Regions from separate parts of the Homo sapiens genome. Here region 1 is linked to region 2. The links are contacts of gene promoters, found by promoter capture Hi-C in human tissues and cell types (Jung and others, 2019). All regions are on one chromosome and are shown on one strand. Each heading gives the region's core, a stretch centred on a gene start or on the middle of the fragment in contact. The rest is flanking DNA. Distances are from core to core; before and after follow the strand shown.

What was found. The method cuts DNA at HindIII sites, captures the fragments that hold promoters and counts their contacts. A contact is called where the count stands out against the background at its distance.
Region 1: a fragment that was not itself captured here is called in contact with the fragment with the promoter of GOLGB1 in region 2 in 1 of the 25 tissues and cell types used here (spleen).

What each region holds. Positions count from the first base shown.
Region 1 is chr3:122,100,176-122,106,197 of GRCh38, reverse strand. CD86 (CD86 molecule) reads right to left here. Exons shown (of 7, transcript NM_175862.5): 3 at 2,351-2,686. Among named protein-coding and RNA genes, the nearest start is that of CD86, 48 kb to the right of the region's middle. RefSeq lists a silencer at 1,837-1,906 and an enhancer at 4,949-5,138. The HindIII fragment of the contact is 5,084 bases long and covers 1-3,792 here.
Region 2 is chr3:121,746,622-121,752,515 of GRCh38, reverse strand. GOLGB1 (golgin B1) reads left to right here and starts at 2,775. Exons shown (of 22, transcript NM_001366282.2): 1 at 2,775-2,884. RefSeq lists enhancers at 2,808-3,047, 3,068-3,117. The HindIII fragment of the contact is 13,718 bases long and covers 1-5,894 here.

The DNA.
Region 1 (6,022 bases), core at 1-2,500, 360 kb before region 2:
CTGAAAGCAGAAGAGAGATAAAAAAAAATCAATCTAAGTTTAGATGTATCTAGGAGGGAATAGCAAATAACTGGGTACTTGATCTGGGGCTCATTGGGGCACACCTGGGAGCCTCAGGGTGTCTAAAATGTGACCCTCAGCCCAAGGTGAGTGCCACATAATGACTTCATGTTTATTTTTCAACAATAGAGTTTGCAGCCATGCTTACTTCCTGCTTATCCAAATCAAAGGGGTGCTCTCTAAGTGACAGGAGGGCTGTAATTGAGTCACCAAAGATTTACAATGAAGCCACTGTTTCCAGGGAGTAGAGTCTTTGGAAGGAGAAGTGGTCTGACTCTAGGGCCCAGGTGTCCCATGGGGCACATTCCAGCTCCCCAGACTAAGAGAGCAGGAAGGAATTGAGCTGGAGTCTCACCAGGAACTGACAGAGTTCATGGTGCTGAGATGCCCTGCGTCATATCTTTCAGAAACCCAAGCAGGATTGTGGTAAGTGAGTGGGTGGATATTTTGGAATTCGAAATTCAGAACACTGATTTTTGGCATGAGCATCAAAGTGTCTTCATAACATACTCTAAGAAGAAGGCCAAATCCAGCTATTTTAGGGAAAAATACATGATCTTAATAAACACAGTGTTTCTCTTGCCTTTGCCATTCTCACTTTTCTGGCTGTTCAGGATCACTGGCATGGAGTCCCTAGACCTGTGTCATGTGCCTTCTGTCAGAAAAAATCCCTTGTTCTTTTATAGTTACTAGGTAGTTTGCAGGTTCTACAAACTAATTTATAATTTAGTGTATTCTTACTAAAAGGTCTGTCATTTGCATGTCATCTTTATAAGTTTTGCTATATCAGTGTACTATTTGAGCAGTCTTCTTGGAGTCTATGTGGCCTGTAGAAGGTGAATTGCCAGACCGTGTTTAGCTTCATTAACAAGATCTGTGAAATCACATGTTGCGTAAGTTAGAGTTTTTCTAATATACATTAAAACAAATACAACATGGCTTTTCAAAATGCTTATCTGTGTCCCACCTAAAACATTTCCAATGGTACCTGACCACATTTTGAAAACACGGATTTAGCACTTGGTTAACTATTCCTAAAGCCCTGCAGCCTAGTTTAAATCACACAGGGTTCAAAGGGAGCAGCTCTCCATTCTATTTTTACTTTTGCTTCTGTTTTACTCTATGGTTTTAGAATAGGTGTTGATCTGCCTTTTCAAGTTTCATCAAAAATTAACCTGGATCCAGTAATACCACACCTGGGTATTTCCTCTAGAGAACTGAGAACTTATGTTCACACAAAAACCTGTACATGAACGTTTACAGCAGCCTTATTCATAAGAGCCCCAAACCAGAAACAACCCAATGTCTTTTACTGAGTTGAATGGATAAACAATAAAATGCTACTCAGCAATAAAAAGGGACAAGCTCGATATGTGCAACAACTTGGGTGAATCTCGAAGGCGCGCTAAACGAAAGAAGCCAGGCTTAAAAGGTTACATACTGTGTGGCTTCACTTATGTGACACTGTCAAAAAGACAAAACTATAGGATGCCCAACAAGGGTTATGAGTGCAGACAGGGTATGACTCTATGAAGGGACAGCCTGAGGGAAATTTTTAGGGTGATAGAAATGCTCTATGTCCTGTGGCGGTTACCTAAATCTATACAAGATCTATACAATCAGTAGAACAGTATATCAAAACAAAAAAAAATAATTTTACTGTGTGATAGTTTTAAAAAAATCTGTAGTGGCATTTAGGCCTTCCAAGGTCTCGTGAAGCAGAGGAGCTGGTTTGTAAGTTTGTGGGTTATGTTTGTTGGGTTTTTTTCCCTTCTGTCTACCAGGCTCATGGTTGTGGCAGCAAACAACTCATAAGCAACCTAGAGGAGGCTGAAGGGAAAACCCAAATGTGTCAGCTGTCCGCTTTGCTAGGAGCTCCAGGCAAAGATTTAGTAGGTGAAAAATCTTGGACCCAAGGAAAAAATGAATGTAAGACATCTGAGGCCTTTATGGTTATATAAACTTTGTGATGGCCAAATTATCCATGGTTTTTACTATAGGTAATTAGCCATATTATCTTTGTTCAATTAGCTCTATTTTTTCCCCAAAGCAGATTTTTACTGATCCTTCAGAAGCAGACTATAAAAAGTACAAAAGACTTTCAGTTCCCTACTCCCAGACTCTACACTCCCTTCAAATGCACTTCCCAGAAGTGGCTGTCCTCTGCCTTCTCTCTATAGACCCCCCTTTTCCCCTGGGCCCCTCAAGTCCCCCTCCAGTGTTTTTCTAACTCATTTGCAGTCTCATCTGAGAAGGCTAAGAATCTGAACACACACCATTGACCACATACCAAGCACTGACAGTTCAGAATTCATCTGGTGGATGCGAATCATTCCTGTGGGCTTTTTGTGATGGATGATACATTGATACAAGCCCTTGTCCTTGATCTGAAGATTGTGAAGTCTCAGGGTCCAACTGTCCGAATCAAAACTTGTGCGGCCCATATACTTGGAATGAACACTGTCAAATTTCTCTTTGCCTAAGTATACCTCATTCAGAACCAAGTTTTCCTGGTCCTGCCAAAATACTACTAGCTCACTCAGGCTTTGGTTTTGAGAGTTTGCAAATTGGCATGGCAGGTCTGCAGTCTCATTGAAATAAGCTTGAATCTTCAGAGGAGCAGCACCTAAAAAAGAAGGTTAAGGATTAGGGAGGGAGAAACAAGAGGAAAGGGGAAAAAACCTCCATTTCTCTTTATACAATACCCAGATACTATCTTATCAGTAATCATGCTGAAGAATAAGATATTAAGCTCTGGAACTGTGCACATCTGCTTGGCATCTGGAGATTAGGACCTTTGTCCTTGCTTCACCGCTGACTAAATGTGTGGCCTTGTACAAACTGCAATCTTTATGAGCCTCAGTTTCCTCATCTGATTAATGAAGTGGTTGACTAAATGTTCCAAGGGTCTTTCTAGTACTGTGGTTCTGTGAATTTAAATTGCAAGACAGGGAAAAACCAGTAGAGTTAGACAACCCATTCACCCACCAGTTACCTTCCTATAACCTTAATTTTAGTTTTCATCACTGTAGCTGTTACAGGTTCCATAACTTCTACACCATCACCAAAAGCTTTCCCCTCCCCTCCCATCCACATATTCCTTGGTCTGCTATGGTGAAAAGATTGCTGATAATGGTAATAAATTATAGCCCCCCTTTATTATACTTCATTAGTTGGGGAATCACGTTGAGTAACATCTTTGAAATTCAAATAGCTCCCTTTACAGAACTTCCCCTATGACTGCTGCTCCCATGGCCAGCACTTCCAAGGATGTCAAATGCTTTAGAAATGACTTCGATAGTGAACCAAGGCCTTTATTTTCAGTGACCTCTCTAAGCTCTTTCAGAGATCAGAAAGAGAACTGGGCAAATTTGATGGCTGTTTTCGGATTGTGGTGGTCAATGACCATTTAAGGCACATGAGTGAAATGCTGAAAATGAATCATAGATGGGCAGGTGAGGATGTGCTTTGGGAGTATTGGGGAAACCCCAGGCACCACAAACTTGCTGCTCCCAGTATGCACTGACCCTGGACAATTTTACAACCATAGACATCATGCTGGAAGGGTTGAGAGAAAGGCTTTAGTCCTTGAGGACACTTTGGGGTTTGTGGGAAGGATGTGGGCCACCCAACTACTTAAATGTGAATGATCACGGGGTTTGTGTAGGACCTTTTCTAGGTTACAGAATTACTTGAGACTTGGCAAAAAAAAAAAAAAAAAAAAAAAAAAAGTAAGCAGTGGTGGGTGAGAAGTGCGGGGGTGGAGAGTGGGAAGGCTGTTTCTTACTTAATATGAAGTTAGATGCCACCTTGGAGAGGAAGTTAGTGTAAGTTCTAAATAAAATTTCATCATTCAGGATTTATGTGAAGGCATGTTGACATTGAGGAGGAAAGGGAGGAGATGGGTTGATGAGAGAGATGAGAGGAGCTTCATTTGAAGAGTTCTAAGTGGGGGAGTAATTAAATTGATGTGGTTTCTCTTGAAAGAGGGAATAGAAGGACAGATAACAGTGACATGCACTTGTCAAACTAAACTGTGTACAGAGTGGCCCAGTGAGAACACATAATCAAGGGGTTGGTGGTGGTCTTGAACTCTTAGGGAAGCAGACAGCAGGCATCAGTGGGAGTTTGCACAAATATGAATCACTGCCTATTTCACTACACTCACTAGGACCCTGTGAAGTACTTGAGGTATAAAATGCACCACCTGTAGAGGATGCGTACCGGTATTGGAGGGAGGAAGGAAAATCTATATGCGTACCCTGACAGTGAAAGGGAGACCTAAGGAAGATTTAGTGTGTTTATGAATCACCTTACAAGGCAAACCTGAGGCTTCTGCATCTTCTTTGCTGAGCTCTTAATGTAATGCAAGAGTGCCCCCTACTGTAAAAGCTTCTAGCATTGTCTCTGAGGAAATACTGGTTTTAGTCTAAATTGTCATGTAATATAGGACAGATGACCTGATGGAGAAACCAAACACACAGTTAAAAATTCTGCCAATTAACAGTCAATGTTATGTTATTACTCAGCTGTCAGTTGTGCCTTCTGGACCTGGAAATGACTTCGTCTTTAGCTGCTTCTGTCTTCTTGATTTACATATATATATATATATATATATATATATTTTTTTTTTTTTTTTTTTCTGTAGAGCCTCACAGTATCTTCTTTCCTTCCCATCCATTCTGTCCACTCACAGACCAGTCTAACTCCGCTGACCCAGGCCCCTTCTCCCAAAGATTACAACGGCTTTCTCTTCCACTCATCGAGTGCTCCCTTCTTCACCTAGCAACTGAAAGTGTGATGTATGGACCAATGAGATTCACGTCACATGTGGGCTGGTCTGAAACACGGAATCTCTGGCCCCACCCAAGACTTACTGATTCAGAACCTCCATTTTAACAAGAGCTATAGTTTGAGCAGCTGTTGTAGAGAATCTCTGCCTCTGTCTCCAGAGTGGATCACAGAAAATGACATGAAAATTTTTTTTCCATCCATCCCTCCTCAGACTCCCTCTCCTCCCCATGGGGTGGAAATCACTTTGAAATCCATTCTGAGTGGAACTGAAAGTATTTTGCAATTTATACTCCATAGCACCTCACCAACCACTGGCTTCCATGATCTCACACAGAGCCAGGCATGGGGGATGCTGCTAATCCTTTCTCTGACTAAATGGGGAAAGTTTGGCTCAAGGTCTGTGATCACCAAATGACTTCAGGCCTTCCATTTTATGACCCCAGACCTCAAGCCACCTAGCAACTGGACTTACTGGGATTCCATAGGTGGGTAAGCATTGAGAATCTCTCCCTTCCCCAGCACTTGGGTAAGAGGAATGGTCGAAGTCTAGTTACAATGGGTTGCTATGATGTCAGGAACAAGTCGCTCAAGAATCCAGCTAGATGCCTTCGTAATCAGCTGAAGGAATTTGTTTCAAAGGATAATTAAGGACTTCCTGAGCAATACACTCTACTGTTGGAATGCCACTCAAAAACTGTAATTTGCTAGCCTTATGAAGTCTCTGACCCCACTGGGACTTCAGTGTTCCCTGGCTGCTATCCCCAAATGCATATCTTATATGTTTAAGAATTATCTCTTCTTTATGTTCCTATGCTTATCTGTACTAAAAAAAATTCCTTCTTTTACTAAACTTCCTCCAAAGTTTTACTTGGCCCTTTGAAAGCCTCATTCCATTACTTACTACAAGGAAACTCTCCCACATCTTTAACCCCTTCATTGACTGTTTCCCTGAGGTTATTATTTCAGTGAAATCTGGCTTCACCCAAAGGAAGCCACTTGCTCCAGCCCCAGCTACTGTTTGTTTTATCACACTTTGTGGGGACTTTGAGCAACACCTTCCCCTTTTGAGGTGTCTGACTTTCTCATTGCTTGTAGCTACTAAGTCACTACCACCTTGCTAAATGAGGATTTTGGCATTAGATGCAAGGTCTTGCTAACAATTTGGGTG
Region 2 (5,894 bases), core at 1,526-4,025:
TTGGGCAACAGTAAATCACAGAGAATGTGACATTTCTTGTCTTTCAACTTTTCCTCCCTGTACTTTCAATTAGGGAAATGATCACTCTCTAAGGGACACCTGAATGACTCCACACTTCTGTGATTTCTGCAGTCTCTAACTGCTCTGGAGCTTAGAGTCATATCCAAACCCCTTAGCATAAAATGGCACAATTTTATGACCTACTCTTTGCCTAACCATTCAGTCATATCACTTATGTCAAATTGCCCAAATGGTCCATGCACATGCTGCTCCATCTACCTCCACTATTCTGTACCCTCTTTTTTGCTGGGGCAACCCCTAATTATCTTTTATTATCTTGATCACCCTCTCAGAGCCTAAATTGCTTCCATTAAGTTGCATTCTAAATTATTTCCAGTCCTTCAGTGAACTTAGAAATAATATGTTTTGCTCTTTAACTTCTCCACCTCATTTTCTTCCTTCACACCCCTAGTGTTCACTATAATTCTCACCATACTGTGCTCACCCAATAATAGAAGGTAGAGCTATAAGAAGACCTACTAGACAGAAAAAATTCTAATCTCGTCTCCCATAAGAAACTTTCATTCTGTTAAAACTGAAAGGTAAATTCTAAGGTCGAATGTGGAAATAAGTATGTAGAAAGGTAAATTTTGTGTAAGGGAGTACAATAGGACTCTCAGTGATGGCTTCTATTTTCTCTAAGATAGAAGCAAGTTCATCTGCTAGGAGTGTGAAGTGTAGACACGGGGTTGGGACTTAAAGAGGATGTTAAAGGTTTGAATAATTGTGGCAAATAGGAGAGGAAGCTGAAGACAAGAAGGATTTGGGAGTGTGCTGAAGATGGAGTTCAGCTGGAAACTGAATGTGCAGTGGTCAGGACATTGATGTCACTGATGACATTGTCCTGATGTCTCCTGCAGCATTTTGCTCCCCAAAGGTAGAAGTAGAGACCAATGGTTGGACTGATGCAGGTTTAGGACTTTGCTGGGTGGATACAATCAGGGATATAAGAATATGATGTATTCATTAAGTACTGCAGCATTCAAATTCTGTCTCTGCCCCTCACCATGTGACCTTGTGCAAATTATTTAACCTTCTGAAGTCTTATTGTCTCACATTTAAGATAAGGATAATCATATATACTTTATTAATTTAACAGATATTGAGTGCCCTCCTCTATACTTTTCTGGGACCTGGAGATAAAGCTGAGATCAAAATTACTACCTTCCTGGAGCTTATAATCTAATGAGAAGAGAGATACCAGATAAATGAAATATATAGTACTTTAGATGGCAAAATGCTTAGGGGAAAAAGAAGCAAAGAAGAAGTATATAGTGCATGCAGGAAATTGCAATTTTATTTATGTTTGTATTGATACATATTTGTACATATTTATGGGGTGTGGTAGTTTGATATATGCATACAATGTGTAATGATCAAATCAGGGTGTTTAGGATATCTATCACCTCAAACATTTATCATTTTTGTGTTTGGAACATTTCTAATCTCCTAGTTATTTTGAAATATATAACATATTGTTAACTATAGTCACCCTACTGTGCTATCAAACACTTGAACTTATTCCTTCTATCTACGTTTGTACCCATTAACCAATCTCTTCCCTCCCTCCCCCAACTCCACCTTCCCAGCCTCTGGTACTTATCTCTACTCCATGAGATCAACTTTTTAAGCTCCCACATGAGTGAGACCATGGGATATTTGTCTTTCTGTGCCAGACTTATTTCACTTAGAATAATGACCTCCAGTTCCGTAAGATGGGCAGCCAGGAAAGGCCTTACTTAGCTGATGTTTGAATTGTGAAGTTATGTAATCATTAAGATGAGTATACATACAATGGGCCAGCTGAGTGCACAGCAAGATTCAATAAATTCAAACTAACATTACTCTTATTGCCAAGAGAGTGCCTGAAATGACAGCTCATTGGAAACTGGCTACTTTCCTTCCCTTTCCTTAGGGGTTTAAGGAAAGCATGAGTGATTTCAGTCTTTTGCTGGAGCTCCTCACTGACACTCATTGCAGAGCCTGAGCCCTCAACTCTCAATCTTTGCTTAGGTCCTGGCTTAGGCTCCACTTTGTAAGAGGCACCTTCCTAGTATTCACTACTCTCTCTCTCACAATCATGTCCTTACAGACATTGCTGATCCTCTTTCATACTGACACCGGGTTCTAGTCCGAGTTCCATCACTAAGTCGCTGTTTGACTTTGGGCAAGTTACTTCTGTGGTTAATTATTTTTCATCAACAAAATCAAAAGGTGAAACTAGACGAACAACTAAGAGGCTCCAGTATTTTTTCAATCTAAGAGTCCCATATCCCCCACTCCCTTCTCACAGCTCATTCAACAATCCTAATGGCAGCGGGTGCCCGCAGTCTCAAGTCTCTGCCGAAGCCCAAGCCGCTGTCTCGGTCAGTCACAACCGACGAAGAGGAGGAATTGGAGGAAGCCAGCATAACCACTTCACACTGAGAACATCTGACCTTTCCCAGAACGCCCGCCCACTCGACACTTCCTGTCCCTCCCCAGATCTTGTTCCGGGGCACCTACTCGCGTCTAATCACTCCCCTCATTCACTCTTTAGGGTCCATTGGCTGTTTCTTTGAGGAAGCGGAGCATCTTCTGTCGTTGATTGGTTTCCGTCATTGTTGATAGGTTGGTAACAAACAAGGTGTGCCTGGTCTCCCTGGTAACGTCCTGCCGATAGTCCTGATTGGTCGGTGTCTTAATCCCATCTTCCGTCCCAACTGCTAGTGGCTGAGTCCCTGGCGGGGCGCGGCGGTGGAAGGTGTCGCGTACGGGCTTCCCGAGCTGACGTGGCTTGAATTGGGAGGGGGGCAGCTGGAGCCTCAGGCGGCAGCGCTTCTAGGTGAGTAGGGGACGCTACCCAACTCTTCCCTCTGCGAGTCCAATAACGGTCACCCCCGCCAGAGGGGCCGCGGGAGCTGCCCAAGCAGCTACACCGGAGTCCCCTCCTCGCCCCGCCTCTCCCGGATTCAGTCCTGGATCCGGCCCTTCACCCGCCTCCTTCACCTACCAGGCCTAGTTCTAGTAGCCCACAAGCCTCGGCCTCTCCGGTGGGCCTTCGGGGTCACCCTGCGCAGACTTGGACCACTTGCTCACGGTCTGTCCCCTCCCCGGTACGTTTCTCCTCTGGGAGCGACGGGGAAAAGCGCCTAGGTCAGTCCTGTCCGCACGGCCTTGTTCCTGGAGCGGCCTGCCTAAGTCGGCCTCCGTACGCAGCCGCTGACGTCGGAAAGAACCTGCTGGGCCCCTGTGCTCAGGCCCTAAACAAACTTGGTGTCCCGAAGGGGAGGCGCGACCAAAAGAAATCAAAGGTCTTTAGGGCGGAGATCACAGAATCATTGGAGATATTAATGCAAACGGAGGCCTGTCCAATAATCCTGCTAATGCTAATGGGTTACTGGAAAGATGAGAAGAGAGGAAAGATCCCAACGATCCCGTCAACACGAAAATCCCAGGAATCAGAGGTGGGCAGGCTGTTAGAGAAAAAGGAACCTCTAAGAGAGTTCTCGAGGAAAAATAACTTGGTTTGATGGTGTGGAGTATGTTTAATCTGCACAACCGGAATGTGAAAGGGAGGGTGAGTCCTTTGAGGAATGAGGAATATATTTGTCTGACTTATTTAAAGAGCTCCAGTTGGTCTATGGGGAGCGGACAGTTTGAGAGTGGGACAGGGATATTTACAATCATGGGTAAGTACTTTCACTTTTGGAGATAGTTGGAAGCTGTCTGAGCATTTAAAGGACCTTTTTACAGTTCTGTGCAAGATGCAAGCAAGTGGAGGGCTCTTTACATAAGGGCCAGAGGCCTTTCCAAAAGCGTGAATTGATAAGATTTAGATGGTCAGAATGGTTATGAAGGGGCAAACTCAGGAAATATCCTATTGGAAAAATGGCAGGATTTGGTTTTGGAATAGATGCAGGAAAAAGTTGAAGAGTACTCAAAAGTTGCAGGCATTGTACATTAACTGCTTCATAGCTTTTACTTCTCATCCCTTGACCACAGAATGACCATTTAATGTTTTTCTTTTCACTGCATCAATATTTTTTACTACCTCAGCAGCTTCCAAACCTTTTAATTGCACTCCCTATCAGTAAAACATTTTTGAGCATGCATCTCCCCAAATGTTGTGTGTTTAATTATTTATAGTGTATGACTACCACTGTAAATATGTTGTGTATAATATGAAATATGCAAAAGTATAAACGTAAAAGAATGAAGTTTTTAAAAAGCCTTGTCCACACCTTGGGACCTCCCAACCCAATTTGACAATCACGTAAAGATACTTCCTTGTTTTTCAAGAAGGTCGTTGGCATTTCTGGCATCCAGACTCTGGGATGCAGCCTTTCTTAAACATGATCTTTAGAAGATTTTTTTCAACCTTCTGCTTGAGTTTTATAGGCCCCCTTTCTTTTTCTCCCTTTGATTAATGGATTAATTAAAGGGATGTTGACTTTATCCTTGTTTATAAAATAAATCATTCATTAATTTCTCTAGGTTAATTACTATTAGGAATACCACTGATCATTACATACCAGTCTGTGGTTAGAAACCATTATGTAAAAGGAGACTAAGCTCTATATTGCTGTATTTTTAATTAAGCTATTTTAAAATCAGCTATATGCTTTTGATAAAAGGAAATTTAATACAGAAGGATACAATGTAAAAAAAGTCTTTTTCTTTTCTATCTACTGATCTACCCATCTCCATTCCCCACTTCCCAGAAGTAAGCACTGTAAATAATTTCTTGGTTATATTTAAGAAACTTTCTGATCATAATAAAGCACATGATAATATATACCCCCTTCTGTCTTTCCCACAAGTGGAATCCTAATACACATGCTTTTGCCATTTAGTACTGTATATTAGGCACTTTCAATATCCATGGGTATAAAACTACCTCATCCTTTCCATGGCTACACAGCAGTCCTTTGTAAAAATATAAAAATAGTATTTAGCCTGTCCCCATTGATGGACATTTAGATTTTCAGTCATTAGCCATCAAAACACTGCTGTAGTGTTTTGTTATATAACATCCATGTGTATATATGTATATATATACATATATATACGTATATATGTATATATATACGTATATAGACATATACGTATATATACGTATATACACATATATATACATATATACGTATATACACATATATACATATATACATATATACACATATATATACATATATACATATATACATATATATATACACACATGGATTTTTGTTTTGTTATGTAACATCCATACATAACATGTTTTGTTATGTAACATCCATATATATATATATATATATATATATATATATATATATATATAACATCCATGTATATATATCTTAGGGCCCTTGTGTGAACCTGTCTGTGGTATAAACAATATGGAATTATTTGGGGCCATACTAATATGAATCATTTTAGTTTACTTACTGCTTTAAAAAAAAGTACTTACCTAACTATTAACATAGTGCCTTTATCCCTTCATTCTGTTTTCAACCCGAGTAAAGAATATTGGATAATGAGATTATTCAGAAAATAAAATATTTTCTGTGTATCTTCACCCACCAAGAAGCTTTGTCGAACTATGTGACTGGGGAAATTACTTAACATCCCTCTGCCTTAGTTTACTCACCTTAAAACTGGGAATATTGACGGTACTCCCTCTTGCGGTTGTTTTAAGAATAAAGTGAGTTAGGCCGGGCGCAGTGGCTCATGCCTGTAATCCCAGCACTTTGGGAGGCCAAGGCGAGTGGATCACTTGGAGTCAGGAGTTTGAGACCAGCCTGGCCAACATGGTGAAACCCCTGTCTCTACTAAAAATACCAAAAATTAGCCAGTCGTGGCAGCGGGTA